Linked DNA regions of Homo sapiens: region 1 is linked to region 2. The links are contacts of gene promoters, found by promoter capture Hi-C in blood cells and fetal thymus (Javierre and others, 2016). All regions are on one chromosome and are shown on one strand. Each heading gives the region's core, a stretch centred on a gene start or on the middle of the fragment in contact. The rest is flanking DNA. Distances are from core to core; before and after follow the strand shown.

Region 1 (4,826 bases), core at 975-3,474, 2.1 Mb before region 2:
TACAATTTTTTGGCCGGGCGCAGTGGTTCATGCCTGTAATCCCAGCACTTTGAAAGGCCGAGGCAGGTGAATCACCTGAGGTTGGGAGTTTGAGACCAGCCTGACCAACATGGAGAAACCCCGTTTCTACTAAAAATACAAAATTAGCCAGGTGTGGTGGTGCGCACCTGTAATCCCAGCTACTCGGGATGCTGAGGCAGGAGAATCGCTTGAACCTGGGAGCTGGAGATTGCAGTGAGCCAAGAATGTGCCATTGCACTCCAGCCTGGGCAGCGAGAGCAAAACTCTGTCTCAGAAAAAAAAAAAAAAATATATATATATATATATATATATATAATATATATGTATATATGATTTGTGTTAAAAAATATAATTTTGTCTAATCCAAAGAGTTTTAAAAATTACCTTAACAAAACAAAATTAAAAATTTAAATAAATATAAAAAATTTGTAAAGAGTTCATCTTATTTTAAAAGTTCTATAAGCATAAACAAGTTGACTAAAATTTAAAGGGAATTATTTAGTTTCTCCATAGGTTAAACATTAAAATAAAAATATACTAATCCAGGGCCAAAATATGGGACCGTGTGTCTAAATAACAGGGTTTTCTCAAAAAATTAATCTACTTTTTAACAAAAAATTATAGTTATAAAAATTTTATAAAAATTTTACCTTACAATCATTATAATTAAACAGTTTTATTAAAAATTGGGTTTAACATTAATAATACACAAATACAAAAGTAAAATTTACCTTTCTCTTTTAAACAACACTTTCATATAATATTAAAAACAATAAAAGATTTTTATTTGCCTTTTAAATAAGCAACAAATAAAGAAGAAAAAAAGAGACATGCTGGCTTCATGCTGTTTTTATTGGATCCTATTTAAAAAACAGTCTCCCTCTATCAATGAGTAGAGATTTTTGTCTTAATTATTTTTTATTTATCACTTGTACTAAATAACTGACAATAACCTAAAATTTTATTTATTTTATAATATCAAGTATTTAAGCCTAGAATACTTGACAAACTTTTCAAAGTCAAATTCTAAATTAAGCCTTTTTTCTTTTCTTTTCTTTTCTTTTTTTTTTGAGACAGTGTCTCACTCTGTCGCCCAGGCTGGAGTCCAGTGGCACAATTATGGTTCACTACAACCTCCATCTACCAGGCTTAAGTGATCCTCCCACCTCAGCCTCCCCAGTAGCTGGGACTACAGACGTGCACAACTACACTTGGCTAATTTTTTTATTTTTTTATAGAGACGCGGTTTCCCCATGTTTCCCAGGCTGGTCTTAAATTCCTGGGCTCAAGCAATCTTCCCACCTCAGCCTCCGAAAGTGCTGAGATTGCAGGGGCAAGCCATCATACCTGGCTTTAAGCCTTCTTGTAATCTAATCGACTCTTTAAATATTAAGTCCCTTAAAGTCCAAGAAAATCAATTTAACATTTAATGTATTAAAATTATACAAAAAGATTGTTAAGGATAAAATAGTGTTTGACTTTCTTCTTTAAGCTATATTTACATAAATATATTGTCAATATATATTCCAAAACTATATAAAATTCCTATAATTCTGTTTCAATATATATCGATAATAATTATATGAAGTTATTATGTGCCACAAAAGTAACCAAGCTTTAACCATGATTACTTTAAAACTTTTGTCATCCACAATTGTTTTAATTATTTTCAAAACAATTTTATAATCAACTATAAAACTCTAATAAATACTCTTAAATACAAATATCTAATAACTTTAAAAATTATGCCAGTAAAATAAAAAAAATTCAAGACTCCCATAAAACCTACTGTGTTCATACATATCAAACAAAACAGAAATTAATTACATAAACTATACTATTAAAAAATATTTTTATAACTTTTTATTTAAAACACTGTTAATTCTTCTGTTTTACAAAGTCCAAAAAACTTTTTCTTTTTAGCTATTGACAACTTTCAACAGTCAGATAAAATACACTCCTATAAAGAAAATTTAAGACATATTTTTCTCTAGCTAATCTCTCCAAAATTTACAAACTATTTATACATATACTTAATTTATAACAATATTATTATTTACATAAATTCAATAAAAATCTATTTTCTTTTATAACACAATTAAAAACACTATTTTACCAAAATTTTAATTTAAAAAACATACTTACAAACTACTTTAAAATATCAAAATTAACCTATAAAGCCAATAAAAGCCCCTTAAAAAACTAACCTCATACCTTGTCTATACAGTGTCTATACAAAATTCTTAACCTATAACAAATAAAAAGTGTCACTTTCTAACAGGAACCACAGCCCCAAGTTTTCTTGAGACCTCAAAAGAAAAAATTTGCCCATTTAATACAAATATTTAAAGACACAAATAAACCCATGACTGGACTCAAAACTTCAAAAGATCTAATCTAAAATTCCCTATAACAAAGTTCCAACAAAGCCAATTTTTAAAAAAGCCTATATGACAAATAATTATTCTTACTGACTTTACACAAATACACAAGCCAAATACAATAAAACTAAAACTTATTTTGCCTATAAATTTGTCCTATTATAATTTGTCTTTAATAAAAACAAAAACTAAAAAAAGTTTCAAAAAAACCTAACTATAATACACCTGTAATTAAATTCTAGTCTTATCCACTGTTTTTGAGTTTTTATTATTTTCTATAATTTTAACTAAATCCTAAATTCTTTCTAGAGTACAAATTTCCAAACTAATATTTTCAATTTTTTTCTTTTATTTTTCTAACTTAAACTCAATAAAATTACTACTACCTCTTTCCTGAGGCTTTACAAACTAAAGCTTATTCCTTATAACACAGACAAAGAAAACGTCAAATTACTACTGCCTTCCTCCTCTATAACTAAAAGTACTTTAACATCCAAATAGTTTCCAACATTAATATTTGCTTTTCTATTTCCATAAAAATGCCTCTTAATAAACTTTTTTCTGCCTTCATCACATAAAAAGGCCTAGCCCATGTACAATACTACCTTCTAAATAAAACAACTAACTAAACTAATCCACCCTCATAAACTAAACAAGACTTAAAGCCACCTTCATAAATATTCATATCCCTATTTACAGCCTATTAAATATATATATTAGCCAACGTGTCATCACATCCAATTACAATTAACAATAAAAACCCTACATAATTAAAAAATTCAAAAATGCCTCAAATAGCCCTACAAAATATACACCAAAAAATTAAATCTATGTGCGACCCTACATTGTCACTAAATCAATAGGGGACATTCTAATTCAAGTCAGGACCATGTTAGAGACAAAAACTACTTATAACATTGGCCTGGCCTACAGGGGTAGATATATCCCTGTGTTATAAAACTTACTACTATTATACCCTCTATGTAAAACTGTAAGACAGACTTTCCCCAAAACTTTCTAAACCTCAAACTATAACACTCCAATAAATATTGTCTATAGGCCCAAATACTCATAAATATTTCCAAATCCAAATAAATCAATTCCATTCTAATACCCCCAAACTATGCCCCTTCTCAACAAAAAAATAGCCAAAACAATTATGGCAGCCATTTTCCATACAAATAAAATAAAATTTGACAATAAAAATTACAACCAAACAGCTTAACTTCAAACTGCATTTTAAAACTTTTTTTCCTTTCCAACTTTCTCCCCAGCCTCAAAATATAACTTGAAAATAAACTACAAATGTATTTTACAACCTCAAAATGTTTTCTTTCCTCCCTTCTCCCAATCTCAAAATATAACTTTAGACAAACTATATATCTGCTTCCTTTTGCCTTAAAATACAGCCTCAAAATGTACTATAAATCGCCACTCCCCTTCTTTCCCATACTATACTCCCATGCGTTATGCATATTTATTTACTTACATCCTTGTTAAGTACATGCCACACTGACATATCTAGTCATATATTTCCATTAAAACGTCAAAGGCCAAATCCTAACACAAACCAGACACCTCCAAAATTCTCTCCCCAGTCAAGGCTGAAACTCAATCCCAGCTAAAAACTGACTACAGGCCAGATGCAAAGGCTCACACCTGTTATCCCAGCACTTCGTGAGGCCGAGGTGGGAGGACTGCTTGAGCCCAGAAATTTGAGACTAGTCTGGGCAACATGGTGAAACCCCATCTCCACCAAAAAAAAATACAAAAAGTTAGCTGTGCTGGATGGTGCATGCCTGTGGTCCTAGCTACTAGGGAGGCTGAGGTAGGAGAGGATCACCTGAGCCTGGGAGGTCAAGACTGCATTGAGCCAAGATCACACCACTGCACTCCAGCCTGGGAGACAGAGTGAGACCCCATCTCCAAGAAAAAACAAAAATTGACCATAAAATTGACTGCAATTAATTTGTAACCTAATTAAAGCCCAAAATGACACCAGGGCCTTCACCAAATAAAACAACAATTCACAATAAGTCATTAAAACAAACCGTGCCACCTCATACCCACTTCCTCTCCTACATTCCAAACCCCTCTCTCCTTAAAAATCTCTATCTTCCCTCCACAAAGGGAAGAGTGGAAATTTTTTAAAATTTCACCCATTCTTCCCCTTGCTAACACAAGTAGTAAAGTCTTGCTCTCTTTCTTTCACATGTCATTATTATTTTGACTCCTTTCTATAAACAAATGGCCGAACCCTTTTGCTGGTTACACGTCTAGTTGTTACACTTCCATAGTGCAGATGAAAAATGAGAGGTTACTTGATTTCTTCAGTTTACTCTTTGATGTCAGCCCTCCAAGTTGGGGTATGAGTGGCACAGGAACCCTGAGTTCCAGAATAGCTAAGTGGTGGGACTAGCTGAT
Region 2 (5,097 bases), core at 2,386-4,885:
AGTGAGTGAGTTCTCACGAGATCTGGTTGTTGTAAAGTGTGGCCCCCGCCAACCCCCGGCAACTCTCTTGCTCCTGCTCCACCACGTGAAATACCTGTTCCTCCTTCACCTTCCTCCATAATTGTAAGCTCCCTGAGGCCTCTCCAGAAGCAGATGCTGGTGCCATGCTTCCTGAACAGCCTGCAGAACCATGAGCCAATTAAATCTCTTTTCTTATAAATTACCCAGTGTCAGGTATTTCTTTATAACAACATAAGAATGGCCTAACAGAGCTGCGTGCAGTAGCTCCTGCTTGTAATCCAAGCATTTTGGGAGGCTGAGGCAGGAGGATTGCTTAAGTCCAAGAGTCCAAGACCAGCCTGGGCAACACAGCAAGACTGTGTTTCTACTAAAAATTTAAAAAGTTGGCCAGGTGTGGTGGCACACACCTGTGGTCCCAGCTACTCGCCTGTGGTCCCAGCTACTTGGAAGGCTGAGGCAGGAGGATTGCTTGAGCCCAGGAGTTCACGCTGCAGTGAGCCAAGATTGTGCCCTTGCACTCTAGCCTGGGCAACAGAGCAAGACCCTGTCTCCAAAACAACAAAACAAAACAAAACTGGCCTAACACCCTATCTAAAAACAAAACAAAACAGAGGGCTATAGCACATTCTTTAGAATATCTTAAATTATGGCAAATCTCCATCTTTTCAGGATGGTTTTAGTTTTGGGGAATAGTCAAAAGTGTGAGAAACCCTTGGTCAAATTCCCTTTCCTAGGCCTGAAGCCCCCAACACTCACCATAAATAATTATTTTTCTCTATCTTGAGAAACAAATAAGTTGAGTAAATCATGACTATTGCCCATTGTAATACAACAAAGTAATCTAGGGTCTGTAAGCAACTTTCCTAAAAAGATAAAATGCATACATTGCATCAAAAAGAACATGCAGTACATACAAAATTTCTGAGGAAGAAAAATTATCTCTGCCCTCAAATCATGCTTACTTGCTATTTTATTTTTAAATAGATTGCTCATTAAACCTACCTCAAATGGAATGACAGGATTATAAATGGATGTTATAACTGCCCTTAACTTCTTCCCCAGGGGAGATAATTAAGGGGATCAAAAACACTTCTTCCCTTTGCAGTAGTCACATGATAACATGCTATCACTTTGGTTCAGGTTGGCAAGCAAATATTTGCTTGTTCCACTTCCAAGAAAGTATAAGGTCATAACTATTTAAACATTTGAAAACAAAAATTAATCTTATCAGCATAAGGCTGAAACCAGCATATGTAATAACTGGCTGTTCTTTAGTATTGAGTTGGGAACGGCATAAAGGGGACCAAAGACTAACTCTTTTTTTCCTTCTTTCTTTCTTTTTTTTATTTTTGAGACACAGTCTCACTCTAGTTGCCCAGGCTGCAGTGCAGTGGTACGATCTCAGCTAACTGCAGCCTCAACCTCCTGGGTTCAGGTGATCCTCTGACCCTCAACCTCCCGAGTAGCTGGGACTACAAGCACATTTTTAAATTTTTTTTTATTTTTAGTAAATATAGGGTTTTGCCATGTTGCCCAGGCTGGTCTCCAACTCCTGGTCTCAAGCAGTCCTCCTGCCTCGGCCTCCCATAGTGCTGGAAATACAGGCATGAGCCACTGCGCCCAGCCAAGACTAACTCTTTTAATTGGTTTCTGTCTCTTTGGGTCCTGAAAATCTGTCTCACTATTTATTATTATTATTATTATTATTATTATTTGAGACAGAGTCTCACTCTCTTTCCCAGGCTGGAGTGCAATGGCACAATCTCGGCTCACTGCAACCTCCGCCTCCTCGGTTCAAGCGATTCTCCTGCCTCAGCATCCCAGGTAGCTGGGATTATAGGCACCCACCACCACACCCAACTAATTTTTCTATTTTTCGTAGAGACGGGGTTTCACCATGCTGGCCAGGCTGGTCTCGAACTCCTGACCTCAGGTGATCAGCCTGCCTTGGGCTTTCAAAGTGCTGGGATTACAGGCATGAGCCACCGCAGCTGGCCATTTTTTTTTTCTTTCTTTTTTTTTTTTTTTTTTTTGAGACAGAGTCTCACTCTGTTGCCCAGGCTGGAGTGCAGTGGTGTGATCTCAGTTCACCACAACCTCCGCCTCCCGGGTTCAAGTAATTCTCCTGCCTCAGCCTCCCAAGTAGCTGGAATTATAGGCGCACCACCACGCCCAGCTAATTTTGTATTTTTAGTAGAGACGGAGTTTCACCATGTTGGCCAGGCTGGTCTTGAACGCCTGACCTCAGGTGATCCACCCACCTCAGCCTCCCAAAGTGCTGGGATTACAGGCATGAGCCACTGCACCTGGCCCTATTTATTATTGAAGAATCAAAATTAGGCCTAGCCTGAAAAATGAGATTATTCTTGATTTTTGAACAGGGTCCTTGAACTGTCATTTAAAACCAAATCTGGTAATCTTTAGAGGCCACTGATGAAAAATAAGGGTAACTACAAAGTGATGACACTTTGTGTGGCTCAGAATCTGTCCTCTTAGGCAGATACAGAAGTGCAGTTCTTTTTGAGTTCTGGTAGCATTGTTTTAAAAGCTGTGCACAGCCTCCTGAGATTGCTATTTTCAAAGGTAGCATTTAGTTGGATATATGTTTGGGTAGGTTTTATTTTTAAAATGCTGTTGCTTTCTAATGACCCCTTATGTTCTAATATGGAAAGGGGAGGCAAAGTATTGTGAAAAGTAGTTGGTAAAGTAGGCCGGATGTGGTGGCTCACACCTGTAATCCCAGCACTTTGGAAGGCCGAGGCGGGCGGATCACGAGGTCAAGAGATCCAGACCATCCTGGCCACATGGTGAAACCCTGTCTCTACTAAAAATACAAAAATTAGCTGGGCATGGTGGTACATGCCTGTAGTCCCAGCTACCTGGGAGGCTGAGGCAGGAGAATTGCTTGAACCCGGGAGGCAGAGGTTGCAATGAACTGAGATTGCGCCACTGCACTCCAGCCTGGTGACAGAGTAAGACTCCATCTCAAAAAAAAAAAAAAAAAGGTAGTTGGTAAAGTTGTTCACATGAACCTTATTTATAATAGTAAAACACTGATTTATAATAATAAAAAATTTGCTATAGTAACAAAAAGAGTCTAGAGTAAGAAACTAGCTGAGCAACGTGGTGTCACACTATACACCCATTAAGACAACAGGCACATGTGTCATGTCCATTTTGTGGAAAAGATATGTAAAATAATTTTAAGTAAAAAAGATAAATATAAAAAAGTGAATGCATACAAAACAATTTCACAAAATTGAATGTTACTCAAAAATCACAGCTCATTTTAAGCTGCACAAAATAGTCATTTTTTTCTTTATAATTGCTCAAATTCATAATCAAACAGAAGAAAGTTCCTGTCTTGGAAGTAGTGCTATGCCCCAATTCTTCCAGAGCCAGTACTTTAAACAATTCCATTTCATTATTTTCCTGTAGACTAATTCTTAGGACATCAGCATATCTCTCTTCAAGCATTAAAAAAATCTCTTTAGAGTCAGTGGATCAATAGACAGTTCCTGTTTTCCACACAACTGAAAGGGTGGAGCCCCCAAACCACAAGGGGAAGAAGGAAGTTAAAAGATGTTAAATACTGGGGCCAGCTCACCCTGGTCAGCCTAGCACTCTGACCTAGCAGTCAACATGAAGGCTCTCATTGTTCTGGGGCTTGTCCTCCTTTCTGTTACGGTCCAGGGCAAGGTCTTTGAAAGGTGTGAGTTGGCCAGAACTCTGAAAAGATTGGGAATGGATGGCTACAGGGGAATCAGCCTAGCAAACTGTAAGTCTACTCTCCATAATTCCAGAGAATTAGCTACGTATGGAACAGACACTAGGAGAGAAGGAAGAAGAAGAAGGGGCTTTGAGTGAATAGATGTTTTATTTCTTTGTGGGTTTGTATACTTACAATGGCTAAAAACATCAGTTTGGTTCTTTATAACCAGAGATACCCGATAAAGGAATACGGGCATGGCAGGGGAAAATTCCATTCTAAGTAAAACAGGACCTGTTGTACTGTTCTAGTGCTAGGAAGTTTGCTGGGTGCCTGAGATTCAATGGCACATGTAAGCTGACTGAAAGATACATTTGAGGACCTGGCAGAGCTCTCTCAAGTCCTTGGTATGTGACTCCAGTTATTTCCCATTTTGAACTTGGGCTCTGAGAGCCTAGAGTGATGCAGTATTTTTCTTGTCTTCAAGTCCCCTGCCGTGATGTGGGATTTTTATTTTTATTTTTATTTTATTTTATTTTATTTTTAAAGACAGTCTCACTGTGTGGCCCAGGCTGGAGTGCAGTGGCATGATCTCAGCTCACTGCAACCTCTGCCTTCTGGGCTCAAGTGATTCTCGTGCTTCAGCCTTCTGAGTAGCTGTGACTACAGGTGTGTACCACCACACCCAGCTAATTTTTTGTATTTTCAGTACAGATGGGGTTTCACCATGTTGGCCAAGCTGGTCTTGAACTCCTGGCCTCAAATGATCTGCCCACCTCAGCCTCCCAAAGTGGTAGGATTACAGGTGTGAACCACTGCACCCAGCCGACATGGGATTTTTAACAGTGATGTTTTTAAAGAATATATTGAATTCCCTACACAAGAGCAGTAGGAACCTAGTTCCCTTCAGTCACTCTTTGTATAGGATCCCAGAAACTCAGCATGAAATGTTTTATTATTTTTATCTACTCTACTTGATTAACTATCTTTCATTTTCTCCCACACAATTCAAGATGTGCCATGAGGAAAAGTTATTTTATAGTTTAGTACATAGTTGTCGATGTAATAATCTCTGTAGTTTTCAGATTGAATTCAGACATTTCCCCTCAATAGCTATTTTTGAATGAATGAGTGAAGGGATGAAATCACGGAATAGTCTTGTTTTCAAGATTCTAACTTGATATCCAAATTCACCTTTAGATATTATAAGAAAATTTCTATCAGAAAATCCTTATGTTTTTCTGATTAAAAAAAGCATTTTTCCATCAGCCTATGTATCTGCTATGAATTTACAAAATCTACTCAACAGCTCTGTTGATTTTTCTGTTCTTGGCTGAATGTTGCCTGAGGGATGGGAGCACGGGAAG

Evidence for each region. Contacts are between HindIII fragments. The CHiCAGO score rates a contact against its expected background, and 5 or more counts as called.
Region 1: a contact is called between a fragment that was not itself captured here and the fragment with the promoter of LYZ in region 2, in 1 of 17 cell types (activated CD4 T cells). The highest score is 6.8, in activated CD4 T cells.

Annotation. Positions count from the first base shown.
Region 1 is chr12:67,259,685-67,264,510 of GRCh38, forward strand. No RefSeq gene overlaps it. Among named protein-coding and RNA genes, the nearest start is that of CAND1, 7.3 kb to the right of the region's middle. The HindIII fragment of the contact is 1,180 bases long and covers 1,635-2,814 here.
Region 2 is chr12:69,344,746-69,349,842 of GRCh38, forward strand. It overlaps LYZ (lysozyme), which reads left to right and starts at 3,636. Exons shown (of 4, transcript NM_000239.3): 1 at 3,636-3,799. The coding sequence starts at 3,664. The HindIII fragment of the contact is 11,988 bases long and covers 1-5,097 here.